Regions from separate parts of the Homo sapiens genome. Here all the other regions are linked to region 5. The links are contacts of gene promoters, found by promoter capture Hi-C in human tissues and cell types (Jung and others, 2019). All regions are on one chromosome and are shown on one strand. The core of a region is centred on a gene start or on the middle of the fragment in contact, and the rest is flanking DNA. Distances in the headings are between cores, read along the strand shown. Region 1 holds the start of SH2D3A (SH2 domain containing 3A). Region 2 overlaps VAV1 (vav guanine nucleotide exchange factor 1). Region 3 has its middle 1.6 kb from the start of RFX2. Region 4 overlaps RFX2 (regulatory factor X2). Region 5 holds the start of DENND1C (DENN domain containing 1C). Region 6 overlaps RFX2 (regulatory factor X2).

The links. Contacts are between HindIII fragments. The study calls those that stand out against the background at their distance.
Region 1: a contact is called between the fragment with the promoter of SH2D3A here and the fragment with the promoter of DENND1C in region 5, in 9 of the 25 tissues and cell types used here (IMR-90 fibroblasts, dorsolateral prefrontal cortex, heart right ventricle and 6 more).
Region 2: a contact is called between a fragment that was not itself captured here and the fragment with the promoter of DENND1C in region 5, in 2 of the 25 tissues and cell types used here (neural progenitor cells and spleen).
Region 3: a contact is called between a fragment that was not itself captured here and the fragment with the promoter of DENND1C in region 5, in 2 of the 25 tissues and cell types used here (heart right ventricle and lymphoblastoid cells).
Region 4: a contact is called between a fragment that was not itself captured here and the fragment with the promoter of DENND1C in region 5, in 2 of the 25 tissues and cell types used here (dorsolateral prefrontal cortex and lymphoblastoid cells).
Region 6: a contact is called between a fragment that was not itself captured here and the fragment with the promoter of DENND1C in region 5, in 3 of the 25 tissues and cell types used here (bladder, dorsolateral prefrontal cortex and lymphoblastoid cells).

What each region holds. Positions count from the first base shown.
Region 1 is chr19:6,765,378-6,769,008 of GRCh38, forward strand. It overlaps SH2D3A (SH2 domain containing 3A), which reads right to left and starts at 2,058. Exons shown (of 10, transcript NM_005490.3): 1 at 2,010-2,058. RefSeq lists an enhancer at 1-448 and a silencer at 2,537-2,596. The HindIII fragment of the contact is 38,619 bases long and covers 1-3,631 here.
Region 2 is chr19:6,851,471-6,854,925 of GRCh38, forward strand. VAV1 (vav guanine nucleotide exchange factor 1) reads left to right here. Exons shown (of 27, transcript NM_005428.4): 25 at 1,495-1,609; 26 at 2,477-2,628. Among named protein-coding and RNA genes, the nearest start is that of ADGRE1, 34 kb to the right of the region's middle. The HindIII fragment of the contact is 9,205 bases long and covers 1-3,455 here.
Region 3 is chr19:6,110,749-6,113,448 of GRCh38, forward strand. No RefSeq gene overlaps it. Among named protein-coding and RNA genes, the nearest start is that of RFX2, 1.6 kb to the left of the region's middle. RefSeq lists a silencer at 1-73. The HindIII fragment of the contact is 4,122 bases long and covers 1-2,700 here.
Region 4 is chr19:6,041,901-6,045,213 of GRCh38, forward strand. It overlaps RFX2 (regulatory factor X2), which reads right to left. Exons shown (of 18, transcript NM_000635.4): 3 at 2,293-2,382; 4 at 144-223. Among named protein-coding and RNA genes, the nearest start is that of RFX2-AS1, 19 kb to the right of the region's middle. The HindIII fragment of the contact is 4,983 bases long and covers 1-3,313 here.
Region 5 is chr19:6,479,517-6,483,183 of GRCh38, forward strand. DENND1C (DENN domain containing 1C) reads right to left here and starts at 2,271. Exons shown (of 23, transcript NM_024898.4): 1 at 2,163-2,271; 2 at 471-535; 3 at 343-386; 4 at 153-202. The coding sequence starts at 2,179. RefSeq lists enhancers at 366-865, 2,462-2,756. The HindIII fragment of the contact is 27,793 bases long and covers 1-3,667 here.
Region 6 is chr19:6,074,432-6,078,131 of GRCh38, forward strand. The region is part of intron 1 of RFX2 (regulatory factor X2); the gene reads right to left. It overlaps RFX2-AS1 (RFX2 antisense RNA 1), which reads left to right. Exons shown (of 2, transcript NR_199041.1): 2 at 2,589-2,693. Among named protein-coding and RNA genes, the nearest start is that of RFX2-AS1, 14 kb to the left of the region's middle. RefSeq lists enhancers at 1-729, 1-118. The HindIII fragment of the contact is 7,886 bases long and covers 1-3,700 here.

The DNA.
Region 1 (3,631 bases), core at 808-3,307, 290 kb after region 5:
CTTCTCGGCAACCTATGCGCACACTCAGAGGTTCTCAGGATAGGTGCAGATCTAACCCCTATTCTTTGCTTTAGAATGCAACGCTGGGGGCCAGGCGCGGTGGCTCACTCTTGTAATCCTAGCACTTTGGGAGGCAGAGGTGGGTGGATCATCTGAGGTCAGGAGTTTGAGACCAGCCTGGTCAACACAGTGAAACCCCGTCTCTACTAAAAATACAAAAATTAGCCAGGCATGGTGGCGTGTGCCTGTAGTCCCAGCTACTCAGGAGGCTGAGGAGAGAGAATCGCTTGAATCCAGGAGGCAGACCCTGCAGTGAACCGAGATCACACCACTGCACTCCAGCCTGGGTGACAGAGCAAGACTCCGTCTCAAAAAAAAAAAAAAAAAAAAGAATGTAACCCCAGGGTTAAGATTTTTAAAAGGTCACATTTTGTAGCAATGTCAGCAAACAGCAATGTTGCCTTTGCAGATCCTTCTATTTCGGAGCCCATACATGTGGTTATCATGATGATTGAATTTGGATCTCAGACATTTTGGTAGTTTCCCGATAATCTCACAGGCCTCAGGGCCAGTGTGTCTCAGGTGTCTGGTGGGGGAGATTTCTCTGGATGGTCCAGAAGAAGATAATCTGCTTCTTACTCTCCTGCAAGCTCTCCCTGCAGCCCTGCAAAGTCTTCTGGTGGGGTCTGCAGAGAAATTCCTGCCTCCTGAGTCAGCAGGAAGTTCCCAGACCAGCCCTAGGTGGCTTTAGGGGAGGAGCGCTGGGCAGGGAGCCAGCTGCCAGTGCCGCATACCTGAAGCCAGGTGTGTCTTTGCAATGCCTGCGCACTTCCTGTTTGTCACCTGGACCAGGGCTAGCCTCGGTCGCAGAGTTTCCCAACCCCAAGTTCCTGTCTTGTGTCTCCCTTAGTGAGAGTGAAGTTGAGTCAATGGCAAGGTTCTGGTTAGTTTGAGGACACAGGGTGGCCATAGGTCAGCCAAAGGCCAACTAAGCCATCTCCTGCCTCTGAGTCCTTTGGGATCATTTATTCGGGCACGGAAGAGAAGAAACGGGCAGAATCAGGAATCAGACCAAGCATAGAGAGAGGAGAGAGGGGATTATTCATGTTCCAGTTGGATCATAAACATGTGTCCACGTGTGGGGAGGACGTGGAGGGTGGGAACCACCAGCACAGGCAACACAAACACAGATGTAGGCAGGACTCGCTTTTGACGTTGGACGACCATTGCTGGAGCACTTGCTGTGCACCAGGCTCTGTTCTAGGACCTAGAGATACAGTGACTAAGGAGATTAAAGCTCGGCACCACCCTGCCCTCCAGAGCTTGCAGTCGGCTGCGCAAGACAGACTGCAAACGAGCACAAGATGAATGGAGAAGACAGACCATTTCTAAGAGTTATCAATGAAAGTGATAAGCCAGGGAGATGTGATAGAGGAGGCTGGACAGGACAGCCTCTCCTATAAAGTGACATTGGAACTGAGACCTCAGTACAGAAGGAGGCAGTTAGGCAAAGATTTGGAGGAGTCGCCTGGGTGAGGGGTACAGTAAGGGTAAAGGCCTGGAGCTGAGATGGACTTGCTTTTTACATTTTACATCATCAAGGCGGCTGGTGTAGCCGGAATACGATGAGGAAGGAGTAGATAGGAGGGCAATGAGGTTGGAGAGATCAGGAGGAGAGACTAGGCAAAAACTAGTGGACTTTGAATTTTAATCTCTATGACCCAAGGGTTTTAAGTGAAGGAGGGGCCCGATCTGATTCGCCGTTTAAGAGGATCACTCAGGCAAAAATGGAAACAATGGCTTTCTGTGCTGCACAGGAAATACACTTAGAGAGGCACGCCCAGGTGAGCCCGAGCACACCGACACGCGTAACGCACAGCGACCCTCTCATTCGCGAGGCGACCTCTTCTACCCCAGATCCTCCCTGCGAGCCGGTGACCCCACCTGGAAAGAGAGGACTCCCCATCCCAATAATCCTGGTTCTGGATCTGCCCTGGGGCTCCACTCACCTGGGCAGGACCCGCGGGGCTCCCACGAGGCTGGGTCCAGGCGGAAGCTGAGGCTCCGCGGCTCCGGGCTGCTGTCACCCCCGCCCTCCACCTTGCCACCGCCCCAGCCTTCCCAGACCACACCTAGTGGGAACTCAGCCCAGTTACCTGACCACACCTCCTGCAGACCCCGCCCCCTGCGGGCCCCGCCTCAAACTAACTTCCCAGGCCCTTGCTCCGCCCCCTTAAAACCATTTTTTTTGCTACTAGCCACGCCTCCTTCTGCATCGCACCGCTTTCTCCATAGACCCCGCCCACTAGGGGAGCACCACGCATCCTTTCCTGCCAGTGGCCCCTCCCCTTGTATATAGCCACGACCACCGCCGAATGACTACGCCCACCCGCAGCCACCTCCTTCTCAGCCCCGCCCCTTAGGGCAATAGAAGAAATTTCATCCCAACGTTCCCGCCCCTTAGAACCCTGCCCCTCCCTTCCACCCAGGCGGCCCCAAGCACCCATGGCCCTTTGGGACCAGGGCGGGGTGGAGTGGGGTGCCTCTCTCCCCTCCCCGCCAAGGCTCCGGGTCAGGGCAGGGCAACTCCCTCGGGCTCTTACGCCAGGCTGGGGTAGCTGCGGCAGCTGTGACGTAAGGAGGGGTACGCTTCCTCCAGACCGCCCTCCCGGATTTTCCGGAAAGAAGCCCCATTTAGGTGGCGGGTTTTGTGGAGAGACGTCCGGGAAAACGCGACAGCTTCCTTCAGTGACAGCACGCTGGAGCGGGGCGGGACTTTGGTGGAGGTGGAAGGCAAATCATTCAGGTGGTTTCCCAGGTGGGAAGAAGGGTGGGGGGGACTTCCATCGTGATGCCTGGAGACGAACAAGAGAAAAGGTGACAGGGACCTAGTGCAAGAGAGAGGACTCTTTGGCCACGTTTATTGATGAGTTCCTCATATTAACATCAGTCTTGTCTTGTAGAGACAGGGTCTTGCTATATTGCCCAGGCCGGAGTGCAGTGGTGATCATAGCTCACTGTAGCCTCAACCTCCTGGGCTTAAGCTATCCTCCCGCTTCAGCCTTCCAAGCAGCTGAGACTAAAGGTGCACACCACCACACCCAGCTGATTTTATTTTATTTTTTGTAGATGTGGCGTCTTACTATGCTGCCCAGGCTCTGGAACTCCTGGGCTCATGCGAACTTCCTGCCTTGGCCTCCCAGAGCGCTGAGATTACAAGCAAGCATGAACCACTGTGCTTGGCCCCAGTAACCACAGTCTTAAAAGCAGTAGCAGCAGCTAACATTTATTGAGCACTTACTGTACACAAGGGCTGTTCTGTCAACTTGCCTTTATTTTATTTTATTTTATTTTTTGAGATGGAGTTTCACTCTCGTTGCCCAGACTGGAGTGCAGTGGCAGCAGTCTCAGCTCACTGCAACCTCCACCTCCCCGGTTCAAGCGATTCTCCGGCTGTAGACTCCCGAGTAGCTGGGATTACAGGCTAATTTTTGTATTTTTAGTAGAGATGGGGTCTCGGCCAGACTGGTCTCAAACTCCTGACCTCATGTGATCCACCTGCCTCGGCCTCCCAAAGTGCTGGGGTTACAGGCATGAGGCCTCTATTTTAATTTTCAAACAGACCACCCTG
Region 2 (3,455 bases), core at 414-2,913, 370 kb after region 5:
TGCATTCAGCCCTCAAATATGTTATAGATAGAAACCTAATTAATCCCCTCAACCTTCTTTCTGAGTTCCCATTTCACAGATGGGTAAAACTGAGGTTTACTCCTCGTCTAGCTTCACTGAATGGCAGAGCCCATAGCTTGTCTTTGCCTAATCTGCTGCATAATCATTTCAGCAACAACTCAAATGCCTTTTGAGGGTTCTTGCTTCTGTTTGGTGCCTTGTAATTTTCAACCATATTTTAGACACTTTAGGCCTAATGATCTAAGGCATATGGTTTTTACCCATGGTCTGTGGGCCCTTGAGAAGCTGAGTCCTCTGAAAGAAAATCAGAATGTTGCATGCATCTGTATTTTTTGTCTTAGATTTCACTTGATTCTCAAATGGATCCTTGACTCCCCCAAAGTTTAATTTATTCAACAAATCTTTTTTTTCCTCCATACTTTTTATTCTGAAACATATTCCCCCAATTTTTAACTTCTGAAAAATTTCAGACAAGTTATTGGAATAGGGTAGTGAGTATCTATGAACCTTTCATATAGGTTTACTTTAAAAAAAATACAAGAGACAGGGTCTTGCTCTGTGGCCCAGGCTAGAGTGCAATGTTGTGATCATAGCTCACTGTGGCTTCAAACCCCTGGGCTCAGGCGATCCTCCCTCCTCAGCCTCCTGAATAGCTGAGACTACAGGCATGCACTGTCATGCCTGGCTAATTGTTTAAATCTTTTTTAGAGATGGGATCTTGCTATGTTGCCCAGGCTGGTCTTGAACTCTTGGCTTCAAGTGAACTTCCCACCTTGACTTCCCAAGGTGCTGAGATTCCAGGCATGAGCCACTACATCTGGCCTGATGATGATTGCTAATTGTAAATTAAGGCATGTGGCCCCATAGAAGGTTTTGAATTTGGTGAGCTAATTATCTGGTAAATTTATCACGAAGTAAGTTAGTCCACTATTGAAAGAACCTGTTTTTGGCCGGGCACGGTGGCTCACGCCTGTAATCCCAGCACTTTGGGAGGCCGAGGCAGGCGGATCACGAGGTCAGGAGATCGAGACCATCCTGGCTAACACGGTGAAACCCCGTCTCTACTAAAAATATAAAAAATTAGCTGGGCGTAGTGGCGGGCGCCTGTAGTCCCAGCTACTCGGGAGGCTGAGGCAGGAGAATGGCATGAACCCTGGAGGCGGAGCTTGCAGTGAGCCGAGATTGCGCCACTGCACTCCAGCCTGGGCGACAGAGCCAGACTCCGTCTCAAAGAAAAAAAAAAAAGAAAGAAAGAACCTGTTTTAGGCAGTGTGGTCCCTTCCCCATAAATAGTCCTGGCTGCTCAGGGAGGTGATGAACTCCCCATCATGGGGAGTATTCAAGGGGTCACTTTCCAAAGAGGCCAGAAACAGGGCCTGCTTCATGTGAGGAGTTGCATATGGCTGTTCCTAGCTCTGCCCCCTTATGGGCTGGCCCGCTGGGATAGCATCTGCCATGTGGTCCGCCTTCTAGGAGCTGGTGGAGTTTTACCAGCAGAACTCTCTAAAGGATTGCTTCAAGTCTCTGGACACCACCTTGCAGTTCCCCTTCAAGGAGCCTGAAAAGAGAACCATCAGCAGGCCAGCAGGTAGGAGGTCTCAGACTGGGGGCTTACAGCCTCAGCCCCTTCCCATTGTGGAGGGAAACTTTGGGGATGCCATTGACACCCCTTCCAATGGCCTTGCAGAGGTCATATCTGTGCAGTAGCAGGAACCCCTTTCCACTCCTGTCTATCCCTTCCTATATATATTTTAATATAATATAATTTAATTAATTAATTTATTTATTTTTTGAGACAGAGTCTCACTCTGTTGCCTAAGCTGGAGTGCAGTGGTGCGATCTTAGCTCCCTGCAACCTTTGCCTCCCACCTCTTGGGTTCGAGGGATTCTCATGCCTCAGCCTCAAAATAAAAAAATAAAAATAAAAATTCCAAACCAGTCTTATTTTCTGGCTGGGTGCGGTGGCTCATGCCTGTAACTCCAGCACTTCGGGAGGCCAAGGTGGGTGGATCACTTGAGGTTAGGAGTTCAAGACCAGCCTGGCCAACATGGTGAAACTCCATCTCTACTAAAAAAAAAAAACATAAAAATCAGCCGGGCATGGTGGCACAGGCCTGTAATCCCCGTGATTCAGGAGGCTGAGGCAGGAGAATCACTTGAACCCAGGAGGCATAGGTTGCAGTGAGCTGAGATTGTGCCACCGCACTCCAGTCTGGGTGACAGAGAGAGACTTTATCTCAAAAAAAAAAAAAAGTGTTATTTTCTAAATTCAGACGGGAGGATGATGCTGGGAGTACAATTGTGTCCCCTTACAGTACAGGGCATCTAATACTCTGCAGAAAAGAGCACTGAGGAGCCCTTTATCCTGGAGTTACTGTCCTGAGAGCTTGTGCCCCCAGAGAGTGAGTGGGTATCTGCCCCAGACCCTTTTCTCACTTCTGTTCTCTCTCCACAGTGGGAAGCACAAAGTATTTTGGCACAGCCAAAGCCCGCTATGACTTCTGCGCCCGAGACCGATCAGAGCTGTCGCTCAAGGAGGGTGACATCATCAAGATCCTTAACAAGAAGGGACAGCAAGGCTGGTGGCGAGGGGAGATCTATGGCCGGGTGAGGCAGGCAGGGCTGGGTGACGGGGAGGGCATGGGGGTTGAGCTGGTGGTGGACGAGACTGGAACTGGGGACTGGAGAAGGTGAGGTGCGGCTCCCATGGAGATCTCTCACGGTGGGAGGGAAGGAAGGGACACAGGGATGTCATTTATGCATTTATGCAACCTACCTGCATGTATTCAGCACCTGCTGTGTGCAGACATTGTGCTGGGTGTCGAGGAGACAGAAACAAGCACGGTACAAGGATTGCCCTCATGAAACTTATAATCGAATGTGGAGGACAGACCTATAACCAAGCAGTCATGACACTGAGTGGTCAAGACTAACAAGGGTGCCAGTCACGGTGGCTCATGCCTGTAATCCCAGTGCTTTGGGAGGCTGAGGTGGGAGGATCTCTTGAGGCCACAAATTCAAGGCAAGCCTGGCTAAAATAGTGAGATCCCACCTCTACATAAATAAAAATAAAAACAAAAACATTAGTTGGGCGTGGTAGTGTGTCCCAGGTACTCAGGAAGCTGAGGTGGGAGGATTGCTTGAGTCCAGGAGTTGGATGCTGCAGTGAGCTATGATTGTGCCACTGCAGCCTGGGTGACAGAACAAGACCCTGTCTTTAAAAAAAAGAAGAAAGAATAAAAGAGATTGTGGTGGAGAATCACAGGGCAGCGTGGGAGCACTGAGGGAGCCCCTGACCCACCCTAGGAGTGGATCAGGATGACTTCTGAAAGGCCAAACTGATTAATAAGGGATAAATAAAGTCATGCAAATGAAAAGGTTGTATATGTGTTGGGGGAAAGCATTCCAGACAGAAGGACCAGTGTGTGCAAAGG
Region 3 (2,700 bases), core at 98-2,597, 370 kb before region 5:
AAAAAGAGTGCGAGACTCGGCCAATGGCCGCGAAGAGGGGCGGGTCTTGGCGGGAGGCGCGCGCGGCTCAGAGGGTTGGCGAACCGGTCGCGCGCGCGGCGCCGTGGGTTGGTGGCGCGTTTTGGGAAAGTCCAGTTTTAGGGGACCCAAGGGACTCCGTTTACCCCACAGGAGGAGTGTGGGACATGTGGGAACAGTCTGATCAGGGGTCAGCAAACTCTCGCTCGCCGCCTGTTTTTCACGGACCCCCAGCTGAAAATTTAAATATATATATATTTTTTACATGGTTAAAAGAAACTATCGGCCGGGCGCGGTGGCTCACGCCTGTAATCCCAGCACTTTGGGAGGCTAAGGCGGGTGGATCACGGAGTCAGGAGATCGAGACCATCCTGACTAACACGGTGAAACCCCGTCTCTACTAAAAATACAAAAAATTAGCCGGGCGTGGTGGCAGGCGCCTGTAGTCCCAGCTACTTGGGAGGCTGAGGCAGGAGAATGGTGCGAACCTGGGAGGCGGAGCTTGCAGTGAGCCGAGATCGCACCACTGCACTCCAGCCTGGGCGACAGAGCGAGACTCCGTCTCAAAAAAAAAAAAAAGAAAGAAAGAAAAAAAAAGAAACTATCAAAAGGAGCTTTTGTGGGGTGTGAACCTGATAGGAGACTCTCTTTTATTGTATTGGGCCCAGTATTTTGAACTAGTTTAAAGATTGGCAAACTGCGGCCTGCGGGTCAAATTCTGCCTGCTTGGGTTTGTAAATAAAGCTTTATTGGAACATAGCCACGCCCATTTCCTTGAACAGCTTGGAAGGCTGCTTTGACACTACAGGGGCGGAGTGGAGTAGTTGCGCAAAGACGGCATGTCCCACGCGAAGCCTAAGATATTTACTATACGGTCCTTTACAGAAAATGTTTGCCAAACTCACCAGCCCTCCTCTCAAGCTGGTAGATTCAGCTACGAGTAGGACAGAAACAGACAGATCCTCATAGAACTTTTATTCTAGTGAGGGAACATTGACAGCAAACAGAATAAAGAGGTAAACATATAGTTATTCGAGACAAGGGGCTGGAAGAATAGGAGAAAACAACTTGTACTGAGAAAAGGCAGGAGATTAGGCTTCAGCCCCACTCATTCATTCAACAAGAAATCATATTAGTGAGCACTGATTAAATTGCTATGTGCCTGAAAGTGATCTAAGCATTTTTTAAATATGCAAACTCATTAAATCTTACAATCGCATCTTTAGAAAGATGCTAGGCATTATCCCCGTTTTTATTTGTTTTGTTTTTTCTTTTTTTTTTTTTGAGACAGAGTCTCTCTCTGTCACCCAGACTGGAGTGCAGTGGTGCGATCTGGCTCGCTCACTGCAACCTCTGTCTCCCGGGTTCAAGTGATTCTCCTGCCTCAGCCTCTCAAGTAGCTGGGACTACAGGCGCCCGCCACCACGCTCAGCTAATTTTTGTATTTTTAGTAGAGACGGGGTTTCACCATGTTGGCCAGGCTGGCCTGGAACTCCTGACCTCAAGTGATCCGCCCGCCTTGGACTCTCAAAGTGCTAGGATTACAGGCATGAGCCACCATGCCCGGCCTTTCCCCATTTTTCAGATCAGGAAGCTGAGGCCCAGAAAGAATGAGTGAATTTGCCCAGTGTCAAACAGCTTGTGAGGGATCGGAACCCTAGTAGTCTAGTGCCAAAGTCCATGCTCTTGATCACTAGATGGGTGGTTTTCAAACATTTTTGACCACAGCATACAGCAGGAAATACATTTTACCTAGGGGCTCAGTCCACACAAACATATCTATAACTAAAACAAATGATACTGTAACTAAAGTACCGTGAAATGATACTTTAACGCACTCTGATATTTCCTGTTCTGTTTCATTTTAATTAAAATGTTGACGGTGATTTGCTAAATTGATTTCATCATCTTCTAATTTTTTTTTTTTTCTTGAGACAGAGTCTCTGTCGCCCAGGCTGGAGTGCAGTGGCATGATCTCGGCTCACTGCAACCTCCGCCTCCCGAGTTCAAGTGATTCTCCTGTTTCAGTCTCCCGAGTAGCTGGCGTTACAGGCACGCGCCACCACGCCTGGCTAATTTTTGTATTTTTAGTAGAGACGGGGTTTCACCGTGTTGGCCAGGCTGGTCTCAAACTCCTGATCTCAAGTGATCCACCCGCCTCAGCCTCCCAAAGTCCTGGGATTACAGGCAGGAGCCACTGCGCCTGGCCATGTGACAGATTCTTAAGCTCAAGTGGTCTACAGTAATCAGTCCCTTTCATTCAATTATTAATTTAGTCAAAAATATTTATTGAGGTCCAAGTGCAGTGACTCAGCAGGAGGATCGTCTGAGGCCAGGGGTTCAAGACCAGCCTGGGCAACATAGTGAGACCTTATCTCTATAAAAATAAAATAAATTAGCCAGGCGCAGTGGTGCACACCTATAGTCCCAGCTGCTCAGGAGGCTGAGGTGGGAGGATCGCTTGAGCCCAGGAGTTCTAGGCTGTGGTGAGCTATGACTGTGCCTCTGAACTCCAGCTTGGTAGACAGAGCAAGAACCTGTCTCTAATATATATATATATACATTTATATATATACACACACATATATACACACACATATATGTGTGTATATATATAGTATATGATGATAGATAGATAGGTAGATAGATAGATAGATAGATAGATAGATAGATAGCGCCTAC
Region 4 (3,313 bases), core at 763-3,262, 440 kb before region 5:
GTTTCCTAATAGCATTTTAACAGTATTTAGTGAACACATCGCCAAAAGCATAAGGGAGAGGAATTTGCTTGATGCCTCCCCAGGTGGCAAAGGCTGGAGTCAGGGAGAGGGTTCCGGGTGTGGCCCGCGGGAGAAGCACGCACATGGCTCCATTGGTGTAGACGGCGTCTCCCCCTTCCACGTACTGCACCTGGGCAGGATACACGTGCTGCACCGGCTGCACCTGAAACATCGGATACGCTGCGTTACCGCCAGTCACGCCCTCGTGAGTTGCCTGCAGATTATTCAAGCTAGACGTGTCTTCTATTGCCTTTATGAACATTTAGTACCAAATGACAATGTTCCCGCCCACAGTCGGCACGCCTAGAAAGACACTGAGGAGACAGTAATGTACAGACGACATATTCCAAACGGGCCCACACAGTTCAGGGAGCTGCGACTGATCCCCAGAGCTCTGCTAGCGTGTCTGTGCGCCCTGGCTCCTCTGTATACGTGGGGGCGGGACCAGGAGAATGACAACGCTCCTCCAGTGCAGTGGAAACTAGAGTTGTGGACAGAGGCCCAGCCTTGGCTCACAGGACTGTCCCTGGTTTCTGTTTTTTTTTTTTGTTTGTTTGTTTGTTTTTTTGCGACAGGGTCTCCCTCTGTAGCTCAAGCTGGCGTGCAGGCTGCAGTGCACAGGGGGCTGAGCAGATTAGACTCTACATGGCCCCAACACCCCCCGTGGGTGGCCCTGGTGCCCCTTCCCTGGCAGAGAGGAGGGGAGAGAATGTGATGGTCTGAACAGAGTGGGAAGGAGCGGCATGCCTGGAGAGATGGGGCAATGGGGGGACCCCAGCACACCCCCGCTGCCCTGCCCTCCCCTCTCTGAAACATCAGTTCAGAGCCTCGGCTGACAGGCCCCGAGGGACTCTAGTCCGAGCAGTGGAAGCCAAACGCTTTGCACATGGGACTTCAAACTCTCACCCCAGAGGGCATCTTAGTGGCTGTCTACATCCACTGAATTTTGGGGTGAGAAGATGGAGGGCCACAGAAGTGGGCTTGTTCGGGTGTCATGGTGTCATGGTGACCTTCCTCTTGTGCTTGAAGCTGCAGGATGGGGCTGACCTGCCCCTCCTTGGACCACTGAGCATGGTATGCACTTGTCCAACGCACCACCCCCAGAATCACAAGTTCCAGGGGTTAACATCTGTTGGGTGATGCCCCAGGGGTGGAAGTCAAATGTCGAATTCTGGGGTCCAAGTGAAATGCAGAAGTTACAGAAAGAGCTGGGGCAGGCCCAGCACCAGAAAAGTGGTGGAAGCTTCTGGAATCTCCTCTCCTTGGTGTCTCTGGGGAGTGCCTTGACAGACAGCAGCTAAGACAGAGCCACTGGCCTGAGGCCCTGCGTCCCCGCTGGGCCTGTCTGGAGCCTTTTCCTTCCTGTGATCCTGCAAACCTTCCTAGTTCTCATGGACACAGTCACCTGACAAATGCCTGTGAACAGACTGCCAATCTAGGCAGGACCCTCCTGAAGAGCGGTGCATTCTCTAGGGCCTCAGGGCTCCTTTTAGGGAGGAGCCTGAGTTAACTTTAATTCAGGATTCTGCAGGGCACAGTTGGCAAACTCCGGCCCTGAGGGCCAAATCTGGCCCACTGCCTGTTTTTGTAAATAAAGTTTTATTGGCACACAGCCACACCCATTTGGTTGCATATCATTTATGGCTGCTTTTGCGATACAATGGCAGAATTGAGTGGTTGTTCCAGAGACTGCCTGGACCACAAACCCCCAAAAATGTATAATTTGGCCTTTTCTGGAAACAGTTTGCTAACCATGCTTCTAGAGTGTCCCCAAGCTGATGATCTGTGTTGCTACTTGGCTGGTCAGCCGTGCTTTCAAACTTTGTTCTTAGATAATTGAAATCATAAGAAGCATTTCCTCTGTTGTGCCCGCATCTGAGGGTATGGCACTCACTAGCAGATGGTTCCTCCAGTCCAGAGCCCTTTGTTTCTGTCTGCATTTCTACCTGAGCTCCACCCAGCAGGTGCGGGGTGCTCACTGGTTCCCCAAATGCTTGCTGAATTTCTGAATGAACGAAAGATCACCAGCTTTCTTGGCTTTCTGCAAAACTATCTGCAGTAAATGATTTTTTTAAAATTGCACAGCTTCTGGAAAAGTCTTTTGGCTAAGAAACTGAAGCTTACAACAAGGAACAGCAGCCACAGAAAAGGATGCATCCTTCAGAGATTGTTCTGGATTGCTGAGTGCTAACTGCGCCCCGGTTTGCACGGTGCTGCGGTGCTTGTCATTACCTGCTGGGGTACCTGCTGAACTCTGGGGAGGGAGATCGGCTGCATCTGGGCCCCTTTGGGATTGGAGCTGGCTGCCTGGACCAACACCCTCTAAAAGGGAAGGGAGAGAAGGCCAGTTAGACTTGTCAGAGGTCAGTGCTGAGGATACACACAGAATGTAAGATGCTGTTTGTCTGTTCATGTGCTTTTTATTAAAACATAGGCAGGACTGATCAGAGGCGACGGCGGGGTGATGGTCAGACTTGCACACTCACACCGACCTGGGCAGACACACGGCAGGTACGTGCAGGCACACAAACAATGCACATACATACACAAGTGTGCACATACACTCAGCCCATGCACCACACATATGCACGAATTGTGGGCACACACACACGTATGCACACACACATACACGGAAGCACATGCACCTTCACCCGCCCAGGCAGCTTTGCCTCTGTGGGTCTGTAGTCTGCAGCAAGGTGACACTGATCGTCCCTAGTACAGAGGGGACTGCTGGGGCCCTCTGGATAGCCATCCGCACCACTGCGTGGGAGAGCACTCTGTGGCGCCCCTCGCTTCTGCAGTATAACCCGGACTTGTTTCCATTTTCTGATGAGGTTAATGAAGCCAGAGGGCTCAAGTGCTGCCTCTGGCTACAGAATACTCGAGTCCAGGTGCCCTGTGTCTGGGTCCCTCGCTCTCTGACCCCACTGCTCTCCAGCCTCCTAAGTCAAATCTGCACAGTGTGGCTTTGCTATTTTTCTGGGAGTACCGATTGGCCACACAAAGCTATCAAAATGGGAAGGGTCAAAGTGAACTCGAGTCGAGGGAGGAACAGGAGTGTTTTGTGTGTTTATTGAGAGCTGGGGCTTTCGGAGTCATTGGCTGCAGTGCTGTGATTTCCCGGCATGAACCCTGAATGTCACAGGTAGCAGTGACTGCCATATATACATCACGAGGGGTGATGGGTGAGGACACGCCATCCCCTGTGTTGCAGGAGTGGAGCTAAGGATGAAGATGGTGCTAATAAGGATGC
Region 5 (3,667 bases), core at 1,021-3,520:
TAGTTCTCAGGGCCCCTGAGTGTCTGAGTCTCTGAGTCTCAGGGTCCTCGAGTGTATGGGTTTCCAGATGTCTGAGTCTCTAGGTGTTGAGTCCTTGGGGCCCCTGAGAGATCTGAGTCCCTGAGTCCTTGGATCTCCCCGCCCTTCCGTACCTTTCCACATCAAAAGGGAAGCAGAATTTAGGCACCATCTGCATAGCTTCCTGGAGGTGAAGAAAAGCGCAGACTGCTTGGCCACTGAGGTCGGGCACCACCTCCCTGGGCTCCAGGTCCAAGAAACCAAGTCCCCTCCCCCTGGGAGACTGGCCCTCGCCCTGGGGGAGCAAGGAGCCAGCCTGAATACCTGGTCCCTGAAGTCTGGAGGGAACTGCCGCAGGATGGGGGGATCTGTAGAAGAGAGCACGCCTCTAAGTTCAGCGACCCAGGCCCACCCTCCCCTCCCACTCCCTCACTCCCAGGCTCCCAACTCACCCTCCTGCAGGGAGGCAGGGCAGGCCGCTTCGAAGAACCAATCAAACACAGCAGGGGAGCCCCCTCTGTGGGATGCAGAAGGGGTCCAGAGACTTGCTTCTATGCATGTGTGGTTGTGTCTGCCACTTTGCACACAAGTGTGGTTGTGTGTGCATGTGCCACAAGGTGCGTCGGCATGTGCATGACTCTGGGGGTTTGTGGCTGTGAGTGTGTGGTTGTGTGAGGCTGTGTGTGCAGCAGTGTTAATTGAACACACAAGTACAGGATGGAGTGAGAAAGTGTGACTGTGTGTGTGTGGCTGTGTATGATTGTGTGTGGCTGAGTGCATGGCTTTTGTGAGCAGGCAGTGTGTGTGTGATCCTGTCTGCTGTCTGCCTGAAAAGATGAGACTGTCTCCTATATCTGTGGCATGAGACTGCACAGATATGAAGGACAGCCCGTGCAGTCCCAAGCTAAGTGAATTACATCTCTCTCTCTCTATATATATATCCATCTATCTGTCTGTCTGTCTGTCTCTGTCTATCCATCCATCCATCCATCCACCCACCCACCCACCTATCCATCCACCCACCCACCTATCTATCTATCTATCTATCTATCTATCTATCTATCTATCTATCTATCTATCTATTTTTTTGAGATGGAGTTTTGCTTTGTCACCCAGGCTGGAGTACAGTGGCACGATCTTGGCTCACTGCAACCTCCACCCCACAGGTTCAAGCGATTCTCCTGCCTCAGCCTCCCTGTAGCTGGGATTACAGGTGCCCGCCACCACGCCCAGCTAATTTTCATATTTTTAGTAGAGACAGGGTTTCACATACTGGCCAGGCTGTTCTCAAACTCCTGACCTCAGGTGATCTGCCCGCCTCAGCCTCCCAAATTGCTGGGATTACAGGCTTGAGTCACTGCATCTAGCCATGCCATCTATATTTTCTTGTATAGATGTGAGTGTGTGTGCCCGAGCAAGTGAATGACATCTATATTTTCCTGTACAGCTGTGAGTGTCACTGGGTAACCGCGTGGGATCCTTGTGGGCTGGCTGTGTGTCTCTGTGTGTGAGACCCCATAGAACCCTCGTGGCTGGTCCCACATGTCTCATCAGAGAAAGGAGGGCAGGATACCTAGGTACTTACTGTAAGCCCTGCAATCTCTGCTTTCCTCCTCTGCCCCCATATCAAGCAGAAGAGGCAGCCTTGGGCTCAAGGAGAGAGACAGGGAGATCTAGAGGGAGATCAGCTGCACACACACTGTCCCGCCCAGTTGCACACACAGTCCCCACCATGGGTACCCCAGCACTTCACCCTCACGCCGACACAAGTCACACACGATCACCCACTCATACCAACACCCAGCCTCCCCTCTGCCCTGATCATCCGCCCTGTGGACCCCCTGAAGCCATCACTCAGACATACCAAGGACAAAGCTCAGAGGGGTACATGCATTCACAGAGCTATAGACATAATCACAGGAGCTGGATAGAGAGAGAGAGAGAGAGAGAGAGGAGGGGACCGAGAGTGGCCTGTCCCAGAGTGAAGGTCATAGCGGAGGCCCATGGAGTATCTGATTCCAGCCACCTGCCCTGGCAGGTCACTGCACCTCCCGGGCCTGCTCCAGCCCCAGCTCCCCTCTGCCCCGGCTCAGGCCTGGCCCGGGAATCTTGTACCAGAGAATGAGGGATGGGGTGGCTCTTACTCAGCTCTGGATTCCATGGTCCCTGCAGGGCCAGCCCAGCGGGGCCCTCTCCCCAGGGGTCCTGGGGGCCTGTGTATGCTGGGCCCCAAGCCGGCTCAGCTTCCTGTGTGGCTGAGAGAGGAAGTTTAACGGGTGACGTCCCCGGACAGAGGCCCTGCCCCCACCCCCGTGAGAAACCCAGGCATCCTGCCTGCTAATTATGTTGGGGATGGGTGGGCAATAAGTGGTCAGCCTGGGAAGGCAGACCCCCAGCTCCGTCCCCGCCAGGCTGGACTGTGTCTGGTTCCCCCCATCGTGCCTGGGCCCTCATCTCTCCTTCCCCGCTCCGCAGCAGCCAAGATTCACAGTCTGTCTATTAATGAAATGCCTCCCCGTCTCTTTCCCTTGGTCCATTTGGCCTGGACGGTCACTGGTGGACCACCAGAGGGAGCCACCTGTAAAGTGGACGGTGGGGGGGCCAGGGATGGGGACAAAGAGCACGAAGTACAGGCACAGGGACGGACAGACAGACACAGACACAGACAGTTACACGCTCAGGAAGTCATCAGCACAGACAAACCGAGTGCAGAAGAGCCAGAGACGACAGACATGGAGAGATAGGGAGTCCTACAGCTGGATCATAGTCCCAGGCCGGGCACAGTGGCTCACGCCTATAATCCCAGCACTTTGAGAGGCCAAGGTGGGAGGACCGCTTGAGCCCAGGAGTTCGAGACCAGCCTGGGAAACATGGCGAAACCCTGTGTCTATAAAAGCTACAAAAATTATAGCTGGCGGTGGTGGCACGCACCTATAGTCCCAGCTTACCCAGGAGGCTGAGTCAGGAGGATCGCCTGAGCCTGGGGAGTTTGAGGCCATAGTGAACCAAGATTGCACTACTGTACTCCAGCCTGAGCAACAAAGTGAGATCCTGTCTCAAAAAAAAAAAAAAACAACTTAGTCACAGTTACACACCCATTGTGCGCAGAAAGACAAGGTAAGCGGATCACTTGAGGTCAGGAGTTTGCAACCAGCCTGGCCAACATGGTGAAACCCTGTCTCTAATTAAAAAAAAATACAGGCCAGGTGCGGTGGCTCACATCTGTAATCCCAGCACTTTGGGAGGCTGAGGCAGGTGGATCACGAGGTCAGGAGTTCGAGACCAGCCTGGCCAAGATGGTGAAACCCAGTCTCTACTAAAAATACAAAGATTAGCCAGGCACGGTGGTGGGCATCTGTAATCCCAGTTACTCAGGAGGCTGAGGCAGAATTATTTGAACCTGGGAGGCGGAGTTTGCAGTGAGCCGATATCGCGCCGCTGTACTCTAGCCTGGGCGACAGAGCAGGACTCTGTCTCAAAAAATCAAAAACAAACAAACAAACAAAAAATTAGCTGGGCATGGTGGCATGTGCCTGTAATCCCAGCTGCTTGGGAGGCTGAAGCAGGAGAATCACTTGAATCCGGGAGGCAGAGGTTGCAGTGAGCCGAGATCGTGCCACTGCACTCCAGCCTGGGTGAAAGAGTGAGA
Region 6 (3,700 bases), core at 1,020-3,519, 410 kb before region 5:
GGGGCTGGGGCTTGAAGGGTGCCCATAACACACTCCCTCAGAGCCTGGACACTCAGCCATCGTTCATTCATTCAACAAACACAGTCTGAGCATCTGCCATGTGCCGGCTTCAAGTGCTGAGGACACAGCAGGGAATGAAACAGATTGAGTCCCTGACCATGTGGGGCTGACCCCTCAGGGAGAGACAGACGACACCATGGACACAGAACAGCAGGAGGTGACAAATGCTCTGAAGAAAAATACACTCAAATGCACAAGTGGAGTGCGGCATGGGCCAGGGGCAACAAGGTGACCTGGGGCAGTGACAGGACAGAGGCAGAGTGAGGTGAGGAAAGTGTCGCCGCTGAGAAGGCTCTGCCAGGGATGGTGCTCGGCAAGGCTGAGGCACACGGGACATGTGGGGTCACACGGGTCACGTGAGGAGGCCACCAGAGGGAGCTGGGGGAATGCTGGGGGTTGAATGTTGTGTCCCCTTAAATTCCTATGCTGAACTCCTCACCCCAAGGCAGTAGCTTTAGGAGGTGGGGCCTTTGGGAGGTGATTAGGTCATGAGGGTGGGATCATGCCCTCCCTTATGGAAGGGACCCCAGAGAGCTCTCTCTGGCTTCCCACCATGTGATGTGAGGACACAGCAAGAAGACAGCCATCTGCATCCCAGAGGGAAGCCCTCACCAGAACCTGACCCTGCTGGCACCCTCTTCTCAGACTTCCCACCTCCAGGGCTGAGAGATGTGTGTCTGTTGTTTACAGCCACCCAGTCTATGGCCTTTTGCTGAAACAGCCCAAACAGATTAAGACAGGAGGAGAAGGAGGAAGAGGAGAAAGAAGAGGAGGAGAAGGTGGAGGAGGAGGAGGAGGAGGAGGAGAAGATGGACTTAGAGACACAAGGAGGCCACAGTGGAGTGTTTGGCTTTCGCTCTGAGTGTGCTGGGAAGCTACTGGAAGGTTTAGGGCACAGGGACACAATCTGACAGATATTTTGGAAGTATCAACGGTCAATGGAAGCAAACGTCAGGGCTGGACAACCAGGTCAGAGGTGACAAAGACTTACGTGATAGCAGTGCTCTCATTTGGGAGACACCTGAAGACAGAGCCAGCCAGGTTTGCTGACGGGTTTGACATAAAGGGTGAAAGAAAGAGAGGAGTCGAGGCTGACTTAAGGCTTGGGGCTGGCCTGAGCACCTAGAGAATGGAGCTGCCCGGTGCTGAGCTGGGGAAGCCCGTGGTCTGGGGAGAGACAAGTGTGAGGTCGAATCAGGCACCCAGTTTTGGGTGACAGAAGCCTCAGATGCCCATCAGATGACACCCACATGCAGCTGCCACCTAGGCAGCTAGGTACACAAGTCCAGGATTCGGGGAGTGAGCCAGGCTGCAGACACTAGGACACTGGAGGTTCTAAGATGCATTTCAACTCTTGTACCTCGGTGAGATCACCAGGAAAGCAGGTGTAGATAAAGCAGAAAAGAGGTCCCTTCTCAAGTTCAAAGGTCATGAACAGTTGGAGGATCTGGCATAGGGGACAGAGGAGAGGAAGAAAGCAGAGGGAATATCGAGCTCTGAAATACACAGCGTCACCCCTTTACTTGGCTTTCGGAGCTTGGTGTTCACAAAAAATTAGAAACGAGGTTGGGGGCGGTGGCTCATGCCTGTAATCCCAGCACATTTTGGGAGGCCAAGGTGGGCAGATCACTTGAGGTCATGAGTTCGAGAGCAGCCTGGCCAACATGGCGAAACCCCATCTCTACTAAAAAATAATACAAAAATTAGCCATGCGTGGTGGTGCATGCCTGTAATCCCAGCTACTTGGGAGGCTGAGGCAGGAGAATCGCCTGAACCCGGGAGGCTGAGGTTGCAGTGAGCCGAGATGGTGCCACTGTACTCCAGCCTGGGTGACAGAGAGAGACTCTGTCTCAAAATAAATAAATACATAAATAAGAAACAAACGTTCATCAACTGGAATACCATTAACTACCTTACGGTGCATCCTAGCTCTAAAACAGGAGGCTAGGCGAGGGTGCCTGGGTCCGGTGCCTGGGTCCAGTTCCTGGGTCCTCCAGTTTCTAGCTGGGTGACCTCAGCCAGGGACTTAAATCTTTCTGCACTTCCATTTCTTTGTCCATAAACGGAGAAAATACTTCTATCTGTGTTGGGTGGTTGTGTTAAATGAGAGGAGTCCTACAAAGTGTGGAGTTTAATGGCCAGCCCAGCACACGGAAAATGCCCATAAATGTTCATTAGCGTCATCGTTGTAATTCACACCATTATAACGTAACCCACATAATTTACTGATTTTTTGCAGATTTAAATATCTGAAACTAAAAGCAGTTATGCTGTTTGCTATTTGTGATTTCAAAAACTCTTCGCTATTTGTGATGTTGCTAAGCCCTTTAGGGAGTGCCTCCTGCTATGAGCTATATTCATTCCAGGGCATATTTGTGGGGTTTGTCATTTTAACCAAGTACTTAATACTTGTTTCTCTCCCAGCATCTTGCCAAATGTGGCAGCTCTCCTTCTAGATGAACACTACTGCATTACTGTTATAGAAATGATATTTTAACATCAACTCCCTTTTCCCTTTTCTTCCCTAGAAATCCAGTCCTTCCATGAGACCTCGGTACACACAGAACTCCTCCTACCACGTGCAACCTTATTCTCGGCTGAGCAACTCATAAATCGCATAACAAAAACAGTGATTGATGCGGACTGTGTTTAGTGCCATCCTTGCCGGTGAGAGGGAGTGAGCCAGCAAGCTTCCTTAAATCTCTTTAGTTCTCCAAAAGGAGAGGCCATTTGCCTTCTCATCTATGCCGCAAGTTTCTGGGGCTTGCATCATTAACCTGGTGGCTTTGCCAATTCCTTCGCCAGTGCTGGGTCAAAGACAGGCAAGGGCACCAGGGTTAGCCATGAGTGTGTGCCAGGGGCTGAATGCAAAACCCGGGAGCACTGGTGGCTGGGGCAGGTGGGCTGGGCTCTGCCACTGCCTCCCCCAGCCCACCCAAGAGGGGCGTGTGCCTCTGCAGGAAATGGCCTCCAAGCATTTCTCAAGACTTACGAGATGTTCAAACCTACACAGTCAGAGACAAAGAGCTAGCTATAAGTGGGGTCTTTTTCCCCTCCTCAAAATTCATCCTGCAGAAGTAGACATGTGCTAAACAGTGCATGGCCACACAAATGCTTGGATACCAATGTTCACAGCAGCGTTGTCCTAATGGCCCCAAAGTAGCAACAGCCCAAATGTTTGTCAACTGATGGATGGATAAACGAAGGCGGCCGGGCGCGGTGGCTCACACCTGTAATCCCAGCACTTTGGGAGGCTGAGGCGGGTGGATCACCTGAGGTCAGGAGTTTGAGACCAGCCTGACCAACATGGAGAAACCCTGTCTCTATTAAAATACAAAATTAGCCGGGCGTGGTGGCACATGCCTGTAATCCCAGCTACTTGGGAGGCTGAGGCAGGAGAATCGCTTGAACCCGGGAGGCGGAGGTTGCAGTGAGCCAAGATCGCGCCATTGCACTCCAGCCTGGGCAACAAGAGCAAAATTCCATCTCAAAAAAAAAAAAAAAAAAAAGGAACGAGGCACTGGCACATGCTGTAAACGGATGGACAGTGGACCCTGAAAACATTATGTTACGTGGAAGAAGCCAGTCACAAAAGGCCACATAGTGTGTGATTCTGTTTATATGAAAGGTTCAAAACAGG